Regions from separate parts of the Homo sapiens genome. Here all the other regions are linked to region 1. The links are contacts of gene promoters, found by promoter capture Hi-C in human tissues and cell types (Jung and others, 2019). All regions are on one chromosome and are shown on one strand. Each heading gives the region's core, a stretch centred on a gene start or on the middle of the fragment in contact. The rest is flanking DNA. Distances are from core to core; before and after follow the strand shown.

Region 1 (4,028 bases), core at 320-2,819:
TGACGAGCGTGGAAGTCGCTGGGCACTCGGAAGGCCCGCAGGACCCTATGGCGGCAGGTAAAGCTCACCGGAGGAACGACCCCGCCCGCCCGCGGTGTCACATTGGCTCTCCTTCCCCCTCGAGCTCCGACCAGACAAGGAAGTCTGTCCAGATCTCCAGCCTCCGCCCGCGACAGATGGAGTCGGGAAGGCACAGCCCCAGGGCTGCTTAGGTCGCGGGCTCACCTGATGGCCGGGTGCCGCAGGTGTGTGTTGAGGGCCTCGGCCAGGACCTCGGGCGGGAAGGGCGGCCGGCCTGAGCGGCGCTGGACGTCCAGGTGCGCCGCGTTGCTCAGGGCGTGGACCCCGGCGTCCGTGCGGCTGGAGATGGTGAACCTGACCGGCTCCACGGAATTCAGCCGCTCGGCGGCCTCCTGCAGGACCGAGCCGCGGGGCGGGCGGGTGAGCGAGGCCGGACCCCGGGGACGCGCGGGCGGGAGCCTCCCCCTTACCCCTCACCGGGCGTCCCGTGACCGGCTGAGCGCACCTCCAGGTAGTTCTGGACCCCGACGGCGCGCTGAGTGCCCCTGACGGCCGCGACCCCGCTGCGGGCAGAAGCGGGCGGAGGTTACCGGGGGCGCCCTGCCCTGGGGTCTCCGCCGCCGTCTGAGGCCAGGGCCGCTTCCTTCCCCGAACGTTTGGAACCCGCGTCCAGAGACATCCGCCTGCCCGCCCGCGCCCTCCTTCCCGCCTCCGCCCGGGCCCACGTGGCGCCCGCCGCTGCGCCTGGGAAACCTACTTAAAGTCGGTGCCCACGTACTGGAAGTACACAAGATAGCGCGCGCGCACGGAGCCTGAGGCCGGCGCCGAACTCATGGCGGAGCCCAGCCGGTGGCGTCAGAGGCGGCCTCCAGCGCAGGAATCCTGCGCGCGCGCGGACGCGGCCTGGTCACGCCCCCCCCCCCTCCCCCCCGGCCCCGGCCGCTCTTGCGCCTGCGCGGTGGCACCGCGCCACGGCGGCCAGAGTCGGGGAGCGGAGGCGGGGCCGGGCTTAGGGAGCGGCTGCAAAGTGCCGGCCCGCCGCCGAGCGCAGGCGCTCTACCTCTATCGCGGCGCCCCGGGAGGCGCGCACCAACCACGCGGTCACCCCGCGCTCTCGCGGGCGTGCATTCGTTCACTCGCTCATTCATTCGCCGCCGCCCACACTCCCCGAGCGCGCCCGTTCGCCGCGTTGCGGCCAAGTCCTCCCAGACGTGGTTTTTGCAAACGCCCTGAGTTGCGCAACGGCCGGGATGGTTGGAGCGGGCGGGCCCGCGCCCTCCCCGCGCCCTCCCCGCGCCCCACATTTCCACCGACTGTCCCCGGAGACGGCCGTGGCAGGCCCCGCCTCACTTCCGGACCGGGGTGGTCCCTGGACGCTGCGAGAGGCGTTTGGCGACGCTCCCCGGCGGTGACAGCGGGCGGCGCGCGCGGGCGGCGGACCTTGGCGACGCTCCCCGGCAGTGACAGCGGGCGGTGCGCGCGGGCGGCTGACTTTGGCGACGCTCCCCGGCGGTGACAGGCGGGGCGGGGCGCGGCGCGGCGGCCTCATTCCGGGGCGGGCGGGCGCCGAGGCGGCGCGGGCGGGACGAGCGGTCCGGGCCGGCGCGGCTGCCGCTCGGCGCCGCGGTCCTCGTGCCAGTGAGCGCCGCGGCCGCCGCAGCCATGACCGTGGAGTTCGAGGAGTGCGTCAAGGACTCCCCGCGCTTCAGGTGCGCCGCCCGGGGCCGCCGGGGTGGGCGCAGGCCGGGGGCGTCGCTGTCGCCTTTGTGCCCGGCGGCGGGGTGGGGAGGTCAGCGCCGGGCCGGGCCGCGGCCGCCGGGGAGGGGCTGGAGGACCGGCCTCGGACAAAGCGGCGGCCCCGCCCCGCCATGCCCCGGGGGTTGGAACAAAAGACGCTCCTGCCCTGTGCGGCCGCCCCGGGTGGAGGGCGTGCGCGTGGGCAGCCGTGGGCACCTCGGGACCGTCCGCCCCCGCTCTGTGTCTGCACCTCCACTGGGCTGAGCCCCTCCCGGGCCCTGCAGTCCAGCTCTGGCCAGGGTCGTCTGGGTCCGTGGGGGCGTCGGCCCCTGGTCTCTGACTTGATCCTGTGTCCAGAGCAGCGCGTGGGGAACAGGCAGCTGGAGCCGCGTTTAAGGCCTGGGGTAGGGTGCTTGGAAACGTGAAGTGGTTTGAATGACCCAGGGGCTTGGAGGGGTGGCGGCCGAGAAGAGCGGCGGGGAAGGTCAGGTAGGGGGTAGGGGTTGTGTGCACACCGAGTCTGCATGTTTTCCATCATTCGTGGCGTGCAGGCGTGTACACCTGCGTGAACTACATGTTCACAGACGTGTGCACAAGTGTGCATCGGCTTTGCTTGGTGGACATTTGGCAAACGACAATGGAGGCAAAGAAACCTCTCTGCATCCCCAAGTGCGCACCTGCGTGAGGCCCCCTCCTCTGCACGAGCTCGTGCGGGGTGCGCTCTTGTGAACTTTGCCCCTCTGCGTGCCTCCCTCCGGACACCAGGCCTTGCACAGGACGTGTGGATGAGCTGTGCCACGGGGCTGTGCTTGCTTCTGCATGTAGCCTGCCGATGAGTGCACGCAAGCGTGTGCACACACCACCTGTCTGTGTGGGTTCACGTACTGTGTTAGCCATGTCAGCAATAGACACATCACCTTGTACACGCGTGTTCCATCACTAGGTACACATGTTGATGCGTGTCTGTGCAGTGTCTCCTTGAACACACATGTATGTGTGGTACCAGTGTGTGCAGGCATGTTTGTGCATGAACATGTTTGCACATGTGTGCTTGATTGTGTATGTGTGGGTGTGCACGCGCGCGCTGGGTCTCTTGGGATCTGCTGGCAAGTCAGCATGTGTGTGGAGGCACGGGGAGCCTCTGTATCCCTGGAGCCCTCACCAGGAGGCTCAGGAGCCTTGGAGTGGGAGGCTCAGGGCCAGCCAGGAGAGTGGCCGCCAGCCCTGGGCAGAGGAACTGGGGCCATCCTCTGCTCTCCCATCTTCTGTTGCTGACCTGGGAAAAGGGGTTGAATAACTTGAGCACCCTAGGATCCTGCATTGAGGACCCGGGCTGTGGGGAGGTGTGGGCATGGCCTCCCTGCTGGGGGCTGGACCCTGGCTGAAGCACCCACCTTCTCCCTGGCCCCTCCGTCAGAAGCCTAATGGACCTCCTCCTCCACGCAGACGGCCCTGTACTGCCCTCTTCCAGTCGTGTGGGGGTGCTGGAACCCACTCACCTCTGGGCCTTCTCTCTGGTAACCGGCTCTCATGGGAGCCTGTTACAGGAGCCAGTTATGGGGGCTGTGGGGCTGCAGTAGGTGCCGTAGAGTGACTGCCCTGGGAAAGTGCCTCACCCCTGTGGGGCATGGACTGGAGTGGGGAGATGAGAATGGCCTGGCCCAGTGGGTTTTGGGGTTAGGCTGTGATTTAACTGGGGTTCGAGGGGCTCCCTGAGGCTGTCCTGGGGGCAGGCCCTAAGGGCGTAACTTGAGTTTCCTGGCCTACCGCCAGGTTGGGGGGCCAGGCAGGGTGGGCGGGAAGATGTGGTCTGTAACGTGGAGCCTGGTCGCCCCAGCCCGGGAGAGGGGGACCCTGCCCGCACCCTCCTGGTCTGGGGAGGGCCTAGTGGCAGCCCAGGTGCAGTGGGCCGGAGGCCAGGGGAGCCCGTGTAGGGGAACCGCCTGGCCTCTGTTCAGTGTGCCCCTCCCCTGGGTGGGGCTTCAGGCGCTGAGTCATGGCTTTGGTTGGGGGGCAGCCTCACCCTCCTCCCCGTCCTCCAAGCTGCTGAGGAAATCCTGGGCTGAGCACAGCAGAGGAGGCCTAGGTCCCCAGGACTGAGGAAGGGAGAGCTGAGGGGCTCCCAGCAGTGGGAGCGGCTCTCGGGGCCTCTGCCAGGGCCCACCCTGTCCCCATGAGCACGTCCGTGAGCTCCTGGGTGCAGCCATCCCCCCTTGCTGGCTCTCCAGGGACACGGGCGCCCCAAACCCGAGGGCGGCAGCTCTGGGTGC
Region 2 (4,028 bases), core at 653-3,152, 410 kb after region 1:
AACGCATGTTGCAAATGCGTCATATGTCCTGTGAGTGACACACACTCTCTCCACAAACTCCAGCCTGGCTTCTCAAGGCCTCCTCTGGGCAAAGCCCCGTCTTTGGTCTGTGAAGACTTGGATAAAACAGCAACATAGTTTCTCACAGCCCAAGGGTCTGCCATCGCCACATGCCCACCTGAGCAAACTGAAGGCTGTGGAAGAAACTCCTGTTCCGACACCTGAGGAGACACCTGGGCAGCTGCCAACCAGGTGGGCTGAATGCACATGGACCAGCCCCTGCCCACCTCCACTGAGCCCCTGGTTTCCCTCTTTTCTTGTACTCTCTCTGTTTTCACTTTACATACACTCTTTTTTTATTTTTTGGACACAGCGTTTCACTCTGGTTGCCCGGGCTGGAGTGCAGTGGTGCAATCTTGGCTCACTACCACCTCGACCTCCGAGGCTCCAGCGATCCTCCCACCTCAACCTCCCAAGTGGCTGCGACTACAGGTGTGCGCCACCACACCTGGCTAATTTTTGTATTTTTAGTAGAGATGGGGTTTTGCCATGTTACCTAGGCATGTCTCCAACTCCTGAGCTCAAGTGATCCACCAGTCTTGGCCTTCCCAAGTGCTGGGATTGCAGGTGTGAGCCACCATGCCCAGCCTACTAAATAAACTCTTTTTAAAGAACGGTTTTAGATTCACAAAACAATTGAGAAGACGGAACAGAGTTTACAAACGCCTGGCACCCAGTTACGCTGGTACTAACGTGTTACATTAGCGTGGCACTTGTTACAACTACTTGTTACAACGAATGCACCAATATTGATGGATTCTTATTAACTAAAGGCCACATTTTATTCAGGTTTTCTTAGTTTTTACATAATGTCCTTTTCTTTTCCAGGATCCCAGGATATATTCCATTTAGTAATCAAGTCTCTTTAGGTTCCTAAACTGTGAGTTTTTCAGACTTTCCTTTTTCCATGACCTTGGCAGTTTTGAGGAGGGCCAGTCAGGTATTTTGGAGAATGTCCCTCAATTAGGATTTGTCTATTTTCCTCACGATTATACTGAGGTTCTGGTTTTTTTTGGGGAGAAAGACCCAGAGTCAAGTGTGCAGAGGTCAAGTGATCACTGCCGATGTTAACCCTGGTCCGTCTTCACTCCACCACTGACCTCCACTCTGCACTCCTGAGAAGGAGGTCACTGCGATGAGCCACGTTGGAAGAAGGAGGTCGCTGCGATGAGCCGCGTTGGAGAGGTGGGGAGTTAGGCTGGATCTCCTCAAGAGTGGAGCCTCCACTTAGGTTATTTAGAACTATTCTGCACTGGAGATTTGTCTGTTCTCCCCCATGATAGATATTTAACCTCACGTTTACATATCAGGATGGACTCAAGTTCCCTTTAAAATGTGGGGTGACTGTGGGGGCAGGGAGGTCTGTGAAGGGGCAGGGTCACCTGTTGCCATGAGGAGGGTGCTGTTTGTGTATGTGACGCTGTGTGTGGGAGGCCTTGGGCCTGGGATGGTGTGGAAGGGCCAGCGCAGGAGTCTGAGTGGGCTGGCATCTCTGGCCTCAGCCAGCAGGACCACCCCCTGCTTACTTGCCCAGATTTTATCTCCAGCATCTCCTTTATCCTCATTCCTCACACTGGTTTGGTCTCCCATCCCACCCCATCCCTGCATCCCATCCTGTTTCAGCCAGTGTCCCACTTCCTGGGCTGGTACCCATCTCCCTGCAGCCGGGGTGCACGTGCTGAGCCATCAGTGGACCTGTCTGGCCACAGTGTGGGCCTCTGTGAGCCATGGGATGAGCCAGGCTCCCTGGGGGACAGTGGGGCAGGAGTACAGCTGACGATGCCACGCTGTTGTGCTAAACATCTTCTGATTTTTTTCAGAAGAAGCCAGAAATCCAGATTTTTAAAACATGGAATCTCCTTAATCGCCCTTTCAGAATCAGCATCCTGGTGTGCCAGGCTCGTCCTGGGTCTCCAAGCGATTTCCCCCTTCGTTCCCCACTCTCTCTCATGTCCCTGAAACCCCTCGGACACCTGAGCTGATGTATTGGCCGCTCGTCCCCATATCTGCCACGGGGCTCCATGCCACGTGCTTTCTGCTCAGGCCCGTGTTATTGGACTGCAGACCTGGGGTGAGTGCCCGTCATCCAGCACTGATTTGGATCCATCTGTGGACGCCGTGTCTGAGCACTTAGGAGTATTCCGTGCAGGCACCCCCCATTCTGGTTTGCTTATTCCCTCACTGTGGGCCAGAAGGTGCCCCCAGCCGGGCGCGGTGGCTCATGCCTGTAATCCCAGCACTTTATGGGAGGCCGAGATGGGCGGATCACGAGGTCAGGAGATCGAGACCATCCTGGCTAACATGGTGAAACCCCGTCTGTACTAAAAATACAAAAAATTAGCCAGGCACGGTGGCGGGCGCCTGTAGTCCCAGCTACTCGGGAGGCTGAGGCAGGAGAATGGCGTGAACCCGGGAGGCGGAGCTTGCAGTGAGCCGAGATCGCGCCACTGCACTCCAGCCTGGGTGACAGAGCAAGACTCCGTCTAAAAAAAAAAAAAAAAAAAAAGAAGGTGCCCCCAACTCCCAGGATCTGAAGCAAAGCTGAAATGAGCGCGCCCACAGCTGTTCCCTCGCAGTTCCGGAAGTGGCCTGGAGCAGAGGCTGCATCACAGGACGTGAACACTTCACGTTGCCGAGTGCCTGCAGAGTGCGTTCTGGAAGACGCCCATCCGCTCACAAGCTCCCAGTGGTGCCTCAGGACCTCCACCTGTCACATGTTTGCCGACCGCTGTGTACATATAAGGGGTACAGTGGTGTGTGACTTTTGTTTTTTAATGCATTCAGTTGGAAGAGTTTAAATGTTGAAATGAGAATGACTTAATATTGGTTACTGTTGGGAACAGGCCCCCCAAAATCTGGCCATAAACTGGCCACAAAACTGGCCATAAACAAAATCTCTGCAGCACTGTGACATGTTCATAATGGCCCTAACGCCCACGCTGGAAGGTTGTGGGTTTACCGGAATGAGGGCAAGGAACACCTGACCCGCCCAGGGTGGAAAACCGCTGAAAGACGTTCTCAAACCACAAACATAGCATGAGCGATCTGTGCCATCAGGGCATGCTCCTGCTGCAGATAACTAGCCAAACCCACCCCTTTATTCCGGCCCATCCCTTCATTTCCCGTAAGGGATACTTTTAGTTAATAGAAACAATGCTAATGACTGGTTTGCTGTTACTAAATATGTGGGTAAATCTCTGTTCGGGGCTGTCAGCTCTGAAGGCTGTGAGACCCCTGATTTCCCACTTCACACCTCTGTATTTCTGTGTATGTGTCTTTAATTCCTCTAGTGCCGCTGGGTTAGGGTCTTCCTGACCGAGCTGGTCTCTGCAAGTGGCGTCCATCGTGGGGGCTCGAATCCAGGTCGAAGGGTCGCCAGAGCGACGGTTGGAGAACGTGGAACTAGCTGGAGGACACCTGAGTACTCTTAAAGCCATCCCCGTGGTGAGTAAGAAGGGGAGCTCGGAAGCATCAGGGTAACAATGGGACAGGCGTGGGGTCTGGTTCGTTTCACCTTGGAACCTTTTCACACTGATGAGGAGGAGGAAGGAGAGTATAGCGACGTAACAGAAGAGGTTACAGACCAGGTTTGTTTGCCAGCTAAAGCTGAAGCGGCAAAGGAGGGAGAGGTTCATCCCTACCCTTCTGCACCCCCTCATTATTATTTTGAAGAAAATGACCCTCCAGGTATTTCTTTTCCAGAGGACTGTGGGCGAAAAGTAGTTGCCCCAGTGACTGAGCAGCGCCTGGAGCGACTGCTCTTAGTTCTATTCAGGCAGGAATTCAGCAAGCTAGAAGAGAGGGTGATTTAGAGGCTTGGCAGTTCCCTGTTAGAATACACCCCCCAGATCAACAGGGAGATATTATAGCTACATTTGAACCTTTTCCTTTTAAATTACTCAAAGAATTTAAAGAAGCTATTCATACTAAAAAAGAATGTAGAAAAAAAATCAGTGAGTCGGCTGTCA
Region 3 (4,028 bases), core at 388-2,887, 270 kb before region 1:
ACTACAGAAGTGACAAAAGTTGAAGTTAATAATGGACTCCAGGTTAGACTTAGCCTGAGAGCCACACCCTTCAAACCTCCTTTGATGCTCAAATATGGTAAAAAAGGGTTTTGACAATGACTCCCAGCAGCCACTCTCTCCAGTGTGGGACCAGACCAGCTATCTGGGACAAGTTCATCCCAGCACGGGGACTATCAAAACCTAATTACAGGATGACTCATTAGTGATGCATTTGGAGAAAGATCTCAATCAAAAGGGGAAAATACCCAAGTTGTCAAATAAAAGTGGACTCACTTATGTTTAAAAAATACCTTGACAAAGACAGCTGGGAAAGGCCATGGAGAATTCTCATGAATCAATAATAAGAAAAACTATCACAAGATTCTGCAAAAACCACAACCTTGCACTAAGGCAATCTTACACAAAAAATACTTCAGCAAGGACAGCTGCCCAGCAACTGCCTGTCCAACCCTGGAACGGGAGTACACTTGTTTTTTTTTTTTTTTAGACGGAGTCTGGCTCTGTCGCCCAGGCTGGAGGGCAGTGGCGCGATCTCGGCTCACTACAAGCTCCGCCTCCCGGGTTCACGCCATTCTCCTGCCTCAGCCTCCCGAGTAGCTGGGACTACAGGCGCCCGCCACCACGCCCGGCTAATTTTTTGTATTTTTAGTAGAGACGGGGTTTCACCGGGTTAGGCAGGACGGTCTGGATCTCCCGACCTCGTGATCCGCCCGCCTCGGCCTCCCAAAGTGCTGGGATTACAGGCGTGAGCCACCGCGCCCGGCCGGGAGTACACTTGTTACTGTTCTTTGTAGCCAAGGTTAATTATTTCCAAACCATTATCTTCCTCTTCATTTTTTCTTTAAAAACCATTACTTTCCTGAATGCGCAAATCGTTTACTATGGCACGCATATTCGCCAACGCCCTATTCCCAAATAAATATCATTTTCAGTTAGCCTGTTATTAGGTTGACAATCATTATCACTCCCTCTCCCGTCCGTGGCGCTCCCACGGCAAAACATCAGCCCACTGTCCACCGCGAGGCTGCATCCAGGCAGACAGGCATAGCTGGGGAATGACACACTCGCGTTGACTGGATTTACTGTAACTGGACCCAAATCTCAGACCAGCCGGCGGCCTCTCCAAGGAAGCCCGAGGCGAGGAAGATCCTAGTCGACGTGCACTCCCAACCAGGTCTGTCACAGGTCGGCCCTCGCATTTAAACGTTAAATGTTGAAGGGCTTTCATAAAAGAGCGATGTGCTCCTGCTTGTATGAGCCGGGGCCGGAGGCCGGTAACAGCGGCACGGGACGGGAGCGAGCCTCAGAATGCGGGAATGTCTGTGGGCCTCCGGGACAGTGGAGGGAGCGGGTCTAGTGAAGCGCGACGACTCTGGGGTGGCAGAAGTGAGGACTATGGGCCCCACGGGGACCGAGGGAACGCACAAAATCGTCCCAAGAGACGAAACGCCGGGCCGCGGAAGGGCCCTCAATGCTATCTCCGGCAAGCGCGGCGTTTCGCATCGCTCCCAAAGGCGGCGGCGACACCTTATGACGTCCTGTTGTTCCGCACGTCGTCGCGTCACACTAGGCGCCGGCGCGGGGTGCTGATGTCAGGACGCCGCCGCTTGGCGCCGTGACGCTCAGCCGGGCCTTGTGGAGTGCGGGTCTCTGCTGCGGACGCCGGGGGCCGGCGCGGCGTTGGCCGCCCCCGGCCTCGCCGAGTGCAGCGCGCCCGAAGGCCAGTGCCTGCGCTCCGTCCGCGGCCCGGCGCCCAGGGTGGGCGGGGAGGCCGCCGCGCAGTCGCCGCACGCTACACCGCCGGCGCCGTCGTTTCGCGTCGCCCGCTTCCGGCCACCGCGGCCGCCATTTTGTTCGCGCGGAAGCGCCGCGGTAGGGTGGGAACCCAAGCGGGAGAGCCGCGGGATTTGCGGCCGCCGCCATGCCGTCGTCCCCGCTGCGGGTGGCGGTGGTGTGCTCGAGCAACCAGAACCGGAGCATGGAGGCGCACAACATCCTCAGGTAGTTGGGCTCCACCCTGTCCCCGCGCGCTCTGCTCCGGCGACCGGCCCTCCCTCCTCCCCGGTTCCCCCTGGCCCGCGCCAGGACCCCTGAGAGGAAGCCGGGCCGGGCCGCGCTCGTGGGTCGGCTGGTTGGGATGGCAGCTGGACGGCAGCGCGCGTAGTCCACACGCGGGTGGGCATCACAGGGAAGGCAGGTTCCGGGACGAGGCGCCCGCTGTCCGGTGGTCCTTCGAGCTCTCCGAGGCCGGGCCCGGGGGGCGAGGGTAGCGTCCGCGGCGAGGGGCTGCGCGGCGGCGGCCGATCATGGTATTTCGTGTGCGTCGTTGGCCACCTTCCCTGGAAACGGCGCGCAACACAATCACGGCATACCACGATGTTGTAAATAACAAAGCGGTCTCTTTTTTTAATGCCATGGATTTGTGTGTTTGCTACTTCTTCTTCTTTTTTTTTTTTTGCGAAAGATCCTCTCTTCCTCCCTGGAACGCCTCCAACCGGTAGTTTCTGGAATACAACGTGGACTTGGTTTGGCTCTGCTAGTTTATATTCCCTGCTAACTGGCCGCCTGTGACTCTTGCGTAGCGTATGTCTAATGAAAGTTTATTCCTGCTTGATAACAAGTTTTTTGTTCAGTCACATAGCAAACTGAGAAACTGACCACTTGACTTACAGTTAAAATTTGGTATGTGTCAACTTTGATAGTAAGAAAGTTGAAATGGCTTTTTTACCTCCAAAGTTACCTACGTGAACTTTAAATGAAAACAGTGTTTCGCTTCTCTTCTCGCAGTCCAGCTATAACTTTCCTGAGCAACTTGGGAAAATTAACAGTCCCCCTTTTTTTTCCGTTTTTAACAGTGTCACGTGGGCCAGGCACGGTGGCTCACGCGTGTAGTCCCCGCACTTTGGGAGGCCGACGCACGCGGATCACCTGAAGTCAGGAGTTGGAGACCAAAAAACACCCCCCAAAAATCAGTGTCAAGTGTTCATGATCTGCTGATTCTTTCTCTTTATTCTTTTCTTTCTTTTTTTTTTTTTTTTTTTTTTTTTTTGAGACAGAGTCTTGCTCTGTCGCCCAAACTGGAGTGCAGTAGCGCGATCTCGGCTCACTGCAACTTGTGCCTCCCGAGATCGAGCTATTCTCCTGCCTCAGCCTCCCGAGTAGCTGGGACTACAGGCACCGGCCACCAGGCACGGCTAATTTTTTTTTTTTTTTGTATTTTTAGTAGAGACGGAGTTTCATCATCTTAGCCAGGATGGTCTTGATCTTATGACCTCGTGATCTGCCCGCTCGGCCTCCCAAAGTGCTGGGATTACAGGCGTGAGCCACTGCGCCCGGCTTTTTTTGTATTTTTAGTAGAGACGGAGCTTCACCATGCTGGCCAGGCTAATCTCAAACTCCTGACCTCAGGTGATCTGCCCGCCTCGGCCTCCCAAAGTGCTGGGATTACAGGCGTCAGCCACCGCATCCGGCCAAAGGTTGTTTTTAAAACTAGAAATGTGCTAGAATTACATTGTGCTGGATCTTCATTTATAAACTGCAGTTACCTGTAAAAATTTGATACATTTAAGCAAAACAATGCAAGGCTCACCCCCCCCCCCCCAAGACAAAATTATTGTTAATTGGAATAACAAATGGGCTGGAGACCTTCTGGTTCTGCTGGTTCTCCTTGGTGATCCTTTGTTCAAGATTTTCTGCTGTACCTGCATAACAAAGATGGAGTAGGCCGGGCGCAGTGGCTCACACCTGTAATCCTAGCACCTTGGGAGGCCGAGATGGGCGGATCACAAAGTCAGGAGATTGAGACTATCCTGGCTAACACGATGAAACCCCGTCTCTACTGAAAATACAAAAAAATTAGCCGGGCGTGGTGGCGGGCGCCTGCAGTCCCAGTTACTCGGGAGGCTGAGGCAGGAGAATGGCATGAACCCAGGAGGCGGAGCTTGCATTGAGCCGAGATCATGCCACTGCACTCCAGCCTGGGCGACAGAGCAAGACTCCATCTCAAA

Evidence for each region. The method cuts DNA at HindIII sites, captures the fragments that hold promoters and counts their contacts. A contact is called where the count stands out against the background at its distance.
Region 2: a contact is called between a fragment that was not itself captured here and the fragment with the promoter of ACAP3 in region 1, in 1 of the 25 tissues and cell types used here (lymphoblastoid cells).
Region 3: the fragment with the promoter of SSU72 here is called in contact with the fragment with the promoter of ACAP3 in region 1 in 1 of the 25 tissues and cell types used here (dorsolateral prefrontal cortex).

The regions. Positions count from the first base shown.
Region 1 is chr1:1,305,471-1,309,498 of GRCh38, reverse strand. It overlaps ACAP3 (ArfGAP with coiled-coil, ankyrin repeat and PH domains 3), which reads left to right and starts at 1,569. Exons shown (of 24, transcript NM_030649.3): 1 at 1,569-1,730. The coding sequence starts at 1,684. It overlaps PUSL1 (pseudouridine synthase like 1), which reads right to left and starts at 902. Exons shown (of 8, transcript NM_153339.3): 1 at 779-902; 2 at 527-584; 3 at 226-413; 4 at 1-45. The coding sequence starts at 855. RefSeq lists silencers at 261-390, 401-540, 571-640, 861-1,540, 1,581-1,750 and 2 more. The HindIII fragment of the contact is 50,978 bases long and covers 1-4,028 here.
Region 2 is chr1:897,563-901,590 of GRCh38, reverse strand. No RefSeq gene overlaps it. Among named protein-coding and RNA genes, the nearest start is that of LINC02593, 20 kb to the left of the region's middle. RefSeq lists a silencer at 3,463-3,623. The HindIII fragment of the contact is 9,929 bases long and covers 1-4,028 here.
Region 3 is chr1:1,572,472-1,576,499 of GRCh38, reverse strand. SSU72 (SSU72 homolog, RNA polymerase II CTD phosphatase) reads left to right here and starts at 1,637. Exons shown (of 5, transcript NM_014188.3): 1 at 1,637-2,022. The coding sequence starts at 1,943. SSU72-AS1 (SSU72 antisense RNA 1) reads right to left here and starts at 1,553. Exons shown (of 1, transcript NR_197593.1): 1 at 1-1,553. RefSeq lists silencers at 1-14, 1,674-1,833, 2,074-2,153 and enhancers at 1,364-1,433, 1,444-1,553. The HindIII fragment of the contact is 14,967 bases long and covers 1-4,028 here.